2 separate regions of the Homo sapiens genome follow, and region 2 is linked to region 1. Evidence: promoter capture Hi-C in 16 types of primary human blood cells and fetal thymus (Javierre and others, 2016). All regions are on one chromosome and are shown on one strand. Each heading gives the region's core, a stretch centred on a gene start or on the middle of the fragment in contact. The rest is flanking DNA. Distances are from core to core; before and after follow the strand shown. Region 1 holds the start of MRTFA-AS1 (MRTFA antisense RNA 1). Region 2 holds the start of LOC124905123 (a long non-coding RNA gene).

Region 1 (3,296 bases), core at 122-2,621:
TGTGTTAGATAAACGTTCACAATTTGACAACTTTTTTTTTTTTTTGCCATTTTTCTTCATTTTTCAAAGAAAGAACAAATAGGCTTATTTTTGGCATTCTAGAATGTTTAACTGGGAAGGATCTTAGACATGACCTGATAACAAACCTTGGTTTTACAGGTGAACAGACGGGGGGCTAAGAATGTTAAGTGACTTACCCAAGATCATATAGCGTGGACTCCCTGTGACCTGATTTTCAAACTACTGATCTTTGGAACTCCTGTGCTACCCCTCTGTGTTGCTGAAGGCCATCTATTCTTAGTTGGTTCTATTGATGTTGGTTGAAACCATCCCGAACATACCTGTGGCTAGGCACAGTGGCTCACGTCTGTAATCCCAGCACTTTGGGAGGTTGAGGGGGGCGGATCACTTCAGGTCAGGAGTTGGAGTCCAGCCTGGCCAACATGATGAAACCCCATCTCTGCTAAAAATACAAAAATTAGCAAGGCATGGTGGTGCACACCTGTGACTCTAGCTACTCGGGAGGCGGAGGCAGGAGAATTGCTTGAACCCTGGAGGCAGAGGTTGCAGTGAATTGAGACCACACCACTGCACTCCAGCCTGGGTGACAGAGTGAGACCCTGCCTCAAAACAAAACAAAACAACCATCCTGCACAATTATGAGTGAGAGTAAATCCAACACATCTCACAGCATCTTGGGAAAATGATAAGGCTCACTTTCTTCTTTCCCTTCAGTGTGAACTCATGTAATAACTTCAGAGAAAGGCATTTCCCTGCTGTCTGGAAGTTGAACTCCTTCTACAAACTGGTGGAGCTTGCTGCCCAGTCCTGTGCCCTCCGAGCTGAGGGGAAGGCGTGGGGATTTTCTGTTCTACTGAAATGGCAGGATTATGTCATAGCAGTGGTTTTGAGTGTTTAGAGGTAGTGTTATTTTAATTATTTTTCTAACTCTGGTTTAAATAAAAACTTACAAATCAGGAAAGAACTGGCTATCTGTATGTTAAAAAAATTAAGAGAGGGCTGGGTGCAGTGTCTCACGCCTGTAATCCCAACACTTTGGGAGGCCGAGGTGGGTGGATCACGAAGTCAGGAGATCGAGACCATCCTGGCCAACCAACATGGTGAAACCCCGTCTCTACTAAAAATACAAAAATTAGCTGGGCGTGGTGGCGTGCGCCTGTAATCCCAGCTACGCAGGAGGCTGAGGCAGGAGAATCGCTTGAACCTGGGAGGCGGAGGTTGCAGTGAACCGAGATTGTGCCAGTGCACTCCAGCCTGGCCAACAGAACAAGACTCCGTCTTAAAAAAAAAAAAAGGAGAGAGAGAGAGGGAACATTGACTCTTACCTTGTACCATCCCAAAAATTCATTTGAGGCCGGGTGTGGTGGCTCATGCCTGTAATCCCAGCCCTTTGTGAGGTCAAGGTGGGTGGATCGCTTGCGATCAGGAGTTGGAGACCAGCCTGGCCAACATGGTAAAACCCTATCTATACTAAAATACAAAAATTGGCCAGGCGTGGTAGCGGGCACACATAGTCCCAGCTACTTGGGAAGCTGAGGCAGGAGAATTGCTTGAACCCAGGAGGCAGAGGTTGCAGTGAGCCAAGATTGCACCCCTGCATTCCAGCCTGGGTGACAGAGTGAGACTCTGTCTCATAATTAATTAATTAATTAATTAATTCAGGCTGTGGGATACTGCTCAGCAACTTTTAAAAAGGGGCAAACTTTAAACGTTTTAGAAATAAAACACCCTGAATGACTCTTGAGAATTACTCTGAGTGAAAAAAGCCAATCCTAAAATGTTACCTATTGTATGATTCTATTTATATAACATTCTTGAAATGACAAAATTATAGATATGAAGCACAGATTGGTTCTTCATATTGTCAGGGCCTGTGGATGGTGTGGGGCTGAAAGTAGATGTGGCTATAAAAGGTCAACATGAGGGATCCTCAGGGTGATGGAAATGTGTATGTTGACTAACAGTGCCAGTATTCTGGTTGTAATATTGTACTGTAGTTTTGCAAGATGTTATCATTGGAGGGAACTGAGTAAAGGATACATGAGCTCTTTGTATTATTTATTATGTGAATCTATAATTATCTCAGAATGAAAAGTTTATACATGAGCTGTTTATTATTTCTTATTATGTGAATCTATAATTATCTCAGAATGAAAAGTTTAAAAACTACAATTTGGCAGCTTTTCAAAAAGTTAAACATAGATCCTGTGACCTAGCAATTCTACTTCTAGATATATATCCTAGAAAACTGAAAACATTTGTCTGTGTATTTTTACACAGACAAATGTTCATAGCAGCTTTTTCAAAATAGCTAAAAAGTGGAAACAACCCACATGTCTTTCAGTTGATGAATAAACAAAATATGGTATATCCATACAATGGAATATTATTCACTCATAAAAAGAAATCACTGTTGATATATGTTATAAAATGAATGAACCTTGGCCTTGTGTGGTGGCTTATGCCTATAATCCCAGTACTTTGGGAGGCCAAGGCAGGTGGATCGCTTGAGCCCAGGAGTTTGAGACCAGCCTGGGCAACATGGCGAAACCTATGTCTACTAAAAATACAGAAAAATTAGCCAGGCTGGTGGCATGTGCCTATAGTCTCAGCTACTCGGGAGGCTGAGGCACAACAGTCGCTTGAACCTGGGAGATGGAGGTTGCAGTGAACGGGGATCAAGCCACTTGCACTCTAGCCTGGGTGACAGAACGAGACTCGTCTTAAAAAAAAAAATGATGAACCTTAAAAACATTTTCCAAATGAAAGGACATAGACATAAAAGGCCACATATTGTGTGATTCCATTTAAATGAAATGTCCAGAACAGGAAATGGAGAGTGACTGCTGATGGATACAGGGTTTATTTTTGGGGCAATGAAAATGTTCTGGAATTAGTTGCGATAAACTATGGAATTATGCACTTTGAATGGTTGAATTTTATAGTATGTGAATTGTATCTCAATTTTTTAAATTGTGTGAGGAAAAAAATTCAGGTTTCTCTAGAGTGACAGCAGATCAGTGATTGCCTGGGGCTGGAAGTGGAAGGAGAAATTGAATACAAAGGGACACAAGAAAACCCTAGGGATGAAAATATATCTCTTTATTGTCGTGGTTATACAGGCATATGCAATTGTCAGAACGCTTTGAATTGTACACTAGGTGAAGTTTATTGTGTCTGAATTGAAGTTCAATAAAGTTAGTTTTTAAAACTTATAATAAAATTATCTCTAGTTGTTGTAAGCTTAAAATGACCTTTAGGTTAAAATTATCTTA
Region 2 (3,607 bases), core at 972-3,471, 160 kb before region 1:
CAGAGGAATGGCCAGTTGGTGTTTAATTGGTATGGAATTTCAGTTTGGGAAGATGGAAAAGTTCTGGAGATAGATGGTGGTGAGAGCTGCGCATTAACGTGAATGTATTTCATGCCACTGAATTGTACACTTGAAATTGTTAAAATAGTAAATTTTATGTTAGGTGTATTTTACCACAATAAAAAAGAGGCCGGGCGTGGTGGCTCTTGCCTGTAATCCCACACTTTGGAAGGCCAAGGTGGGCAGATCACCTGAGGTCAGGAGTTCAAGACCAGCCTGGTCAACAGTGTGAAACCCTGTCTCTACCAAAACTACAAAAATTAGCCAGGCGTAGTGGCGCATGCCTGTGATCCCAGCTACTCAGAAGGCTGAGGCAGGAGAATTGCTTGAACCCTGGAGGCAGAGATTGCAGTGAGCTGAGATTGCACCACTGCACTCCAGCCTGGGCATCAGAGCGAGACTCTGTCTCAAAAATAAATAAAAATAAATAAATAAATAAATAAATAAATATGTATATTAGGCCAGGTACAGTGGGTCACACCTGTAATCCCAGCCCTTTGGGACTCTGAGGTGGGCAGATTGCTTGAGCTCAGGAGTTCAAGACCAGCCTGGGCAACATGGTGGAACCCCGTCTCCACCAAAACAAAACAAAAAATAGCTGGGCATAGTGACATGCACCTGTAGTCCCAGCTACTTGGAAGGCTGAAGTTGGGGGAGGATTGCTTGAGTCCAGGAGGTCGAGGCTGCAGTGAGCTGAGATCACACCGCTGTACTCCAGCCTGGGCAACAGAGCCAGATCTTGTCTCAAAATAAATAGATAAATAAAAATAAGTTAATTAATTAAATGAAAACTGATGATTCAGAAAGGAACAAGCAAACACAAACCCAATGCCAGTTGCCGTGTTTGGTGCTCTTCTTGCTTCTCTTGTGAACAGCAATGTGCGGAAGTGGTTCTGTGGACTCACTTGCAACCTAAACTTTGAGGTCAATGTCTCTCAGCTGTGAAAGTCTACCAGGTGCTGGGGGGTAGTTTCGGAGCATAATCCTCACAGTTGGGGAAGAAGTATTTTCTGGGGAGAAGATAAGGCAGCAGTGGATGAAGCACTGGCCAGGTTTGAGGAGATGACTTGATGGGGCCCCCATGGGAGAAACTAATTGTTAAATGTGGGAAGAGGGAAAGGAGCAAAGAGATGGACCGCAGGGTCTTCACCCGCTTCTTGGACTCTGTCTGCAGCTCACAGTGGCCTCCACAGCTCCCCAAGGTTCTGGCCACATCCCCAGGCTTAAGGAAGAGGAAAAGAAAGTTCCCCTCGTGCCTCAGACCCCAGCTCTGCACTTGGTCCACCATCCCCACCAGCGATGTCAGGAAAATGCCTCGCCAGCAACCCAGCGCTCACCTCTGCCTGTGCTTCCCCTCATCCACATCGCAAGTGTGTCCCGGTTACCGCGGAATCAGGCTGGGGAGAGATGTGGTGGTGGCAGCTCCCATCGTAATCCCCCACCCTTTAAGCCTCCCTGCCCCACTTCTCCCCTCGACCACCTGTTCTCCCTAACTCATCTCTCCCCTCCGCCTCTCCCCTCCGGAAGGTTTACATTGCTACCCACCCACTTTCATGACTCCACCCACTCTGCTTCCATTTCAGTTGTTTCAGTGTGGGGTTAAGAGCTGAAGGACAGGATGCCCCCTTCCCCAGGAGCTGCTGGGGCTTTCGCTGGGCGTGTGCCTACCCACCCACCCACTGTGAGCTGTTGACTTGGTGATGTGCATTCCCTGGGAGAGGCCGTCTCACTTGTTTCCTCTCTGGGATTCCTCCTTGGAGTGCTGGAAGGTGAGAGGGAGTGAGGAGCAGGCAGGGGCTGGGGCTGATGGACACCCAGGGAAGCCTTCCAGTAGACAAACCCGATGCAGGAAGACCTCCTTTTATCACGTTTGTGGCTAGGAATTGGGTCTTTTTGGATTTGCCTCAAGGCTTCCCTAAGAATCCTTTTTTCTTTTTCTTTCTTTTTTTCTTTTTTTTTAAATGGAGTTTTCGCTCTTGTTGCCCAGGCTGGAGGGCAATGGTGCAATCTCGGCTCACTGCAACCTCTGCCTCCTGGGTTCAAGTGGTTCTCCTGTCTCAGCCTCCCAAGTAGCTGGGACTACAAGCACGTGCCACCATGCCTGGCTAATTTTTGTATTTTTAGTACAGATGAGGTTTCACCATGTTGGCCAGGCTGGTCTCGAACTCCTGACCTCAGGTGATCCACCTGCCTCGGCCTCCCAAAGTGCTGGGATTACAGGTGTGAGCCGTCGCGCCTGGCCAGAATCTTCTTTTATTGAGTGTGCGTCTAAAATAGATTTCAAGTTACGGGTGGCAGCTGGAGACCCTACTGTTAGTGAGTAAGGAAAATAACCATCAGCTTCTTTACTCCCCAGGTGCTGGGTGGAGGGGAACACAGGCCAGGAAATACTAATGATTGTGATAAAGAGCTCCCCAGGGGCCGGATGTGGTGGCTCAAGCCTGTAATCCCAGCATTCCACGAGGCCAAGGTGGGAGGATTGTTTGGGCCCAGGAGTTTGAGACCAGCCTGGGCAACATGGCAAGATCCTGTCTCTACAAAATATAAAAAATTAGCCAGGCATGATGGTGTGCGCCTGTGGTCCCAGCTACTTGGGAGGCTGAGGTGGGAGGATTGCTTGAATCTGGGAGGTCGAGGCTGCAGTGAGCTGTGATCATGTCACCTGCACTACAGCCTGGGCAACAGGGCAAGGCCCTGTGTCCAAAAAAAAAAAAAAAAAAAAAAGCCGGGCACGGTGGCTTACGCCTGCAGTCTCAGCACCTTGGGAGGCCGAGGCAGGCAGATCATGAGGTTAGGAGATCGAGACCATCCTGGCTAACATGGTGAAACCCCGTCTTTACTAAAAATACAAAAATTAGCCGGGCGTGGTGGCGGATGCCTGCAGTCCCAGCTACTCGGGAGGCTGAGGCAGGAGAATGGTGTGAACCCGGGAGGCGGAGCTTGCAGTGAGCAGAGATCACACCACTGCACTTCAGCCTGGGCGACAGAGCGATACTCTGTCTCAAAAAAAAAGTCCCCAGGACCCAAGGAAGCTGCCCAGAAGTTTTCTGAAGAGGCTCCCTGCTGCAGCTCTGAAGAGGAACAGGCTGTGCTGCTGCCCCTGCTTTCAGGATGCTTGCAGCTTTCTCCCGCTCTCTCAGTAAGGTCTGCTGAGCACTGCACTGACGGCTCCCAGTCCCCTCTCAGTGAAGACACCAAGAAGCAGCAGCCAAGCAGCAGTCGTGGCTGCCTCCCAGTGGCCCCGGCTGTAATCTTCTGTTCAAGGTGCCCACACCAGATCTCAGCTGTAGAAAGCAGAGAGGCTTCAGCTGCCCTAAGAGCTGGCTCTGCGGCTGGTGACTCAGCGGGGGTGAGGGTTGAGGCGGGGGAGTGGGGGTTGGGACTTGGGGCCTGAGGACTCATCACTGATGACAACAAAGCCCAGGGGATTTTGTGCAGAAGACAGGAAGCTGAGTCCCAAGAACAAGCCCAGCAGCAGAACTGCAAAATCTAATGAATCCCCAGTAATTCCATTTATGCCACTGAATCCTCCCTGTGGGTTCAGAAA

The links. The method cuts DNA at HindIII sites, captures the fragments that hold promoters and counts their contacts. A CHiCAGO score of 5 or more calls a contact.
Region 2: a contact is called between a fragment that was not itself captured here and the fragment with the promoter of MRTFA-AS1 in region 1, in 1 of 17 cell types (megakaryocytes). The highest score is 6.1, in megakaryocytes.

Annotation. Positions count from the first base shown.
Region 1 is chr22:40,519,875-40,523,170 of GRCh38, reverse strand. MRTFA-AS1 (MRTFA antisense RNA 1) reads right to left here and starts at 1,371. Exons shown (of 4, transcript NR_109965.1): 1 at 198-1,371. All of the region lies in intron 3 of MRTFA (myocardin related transcription factor A), which reads left to right. The HindIII fragment of the contact is 4,880 bases long and covers 1-3,266 here.
Region 2 is chr22:40,682,965-40,686,571 of GRCh38, reverse strand. LOC124905123 (a long non-coding RNA gene) reads left to right here and starts at 1,642. Exons shown (of 3, transcript XR_007068110.1): 1 at 1,642-1,829. RefSeq lists enhancers at 1,484-2,179, 2,180-2,875 and silencers at 3,153-3,447, 3,173-3,467. The HindIII fragment of the contact is 8,253 bases long and covers 1-3,607 here.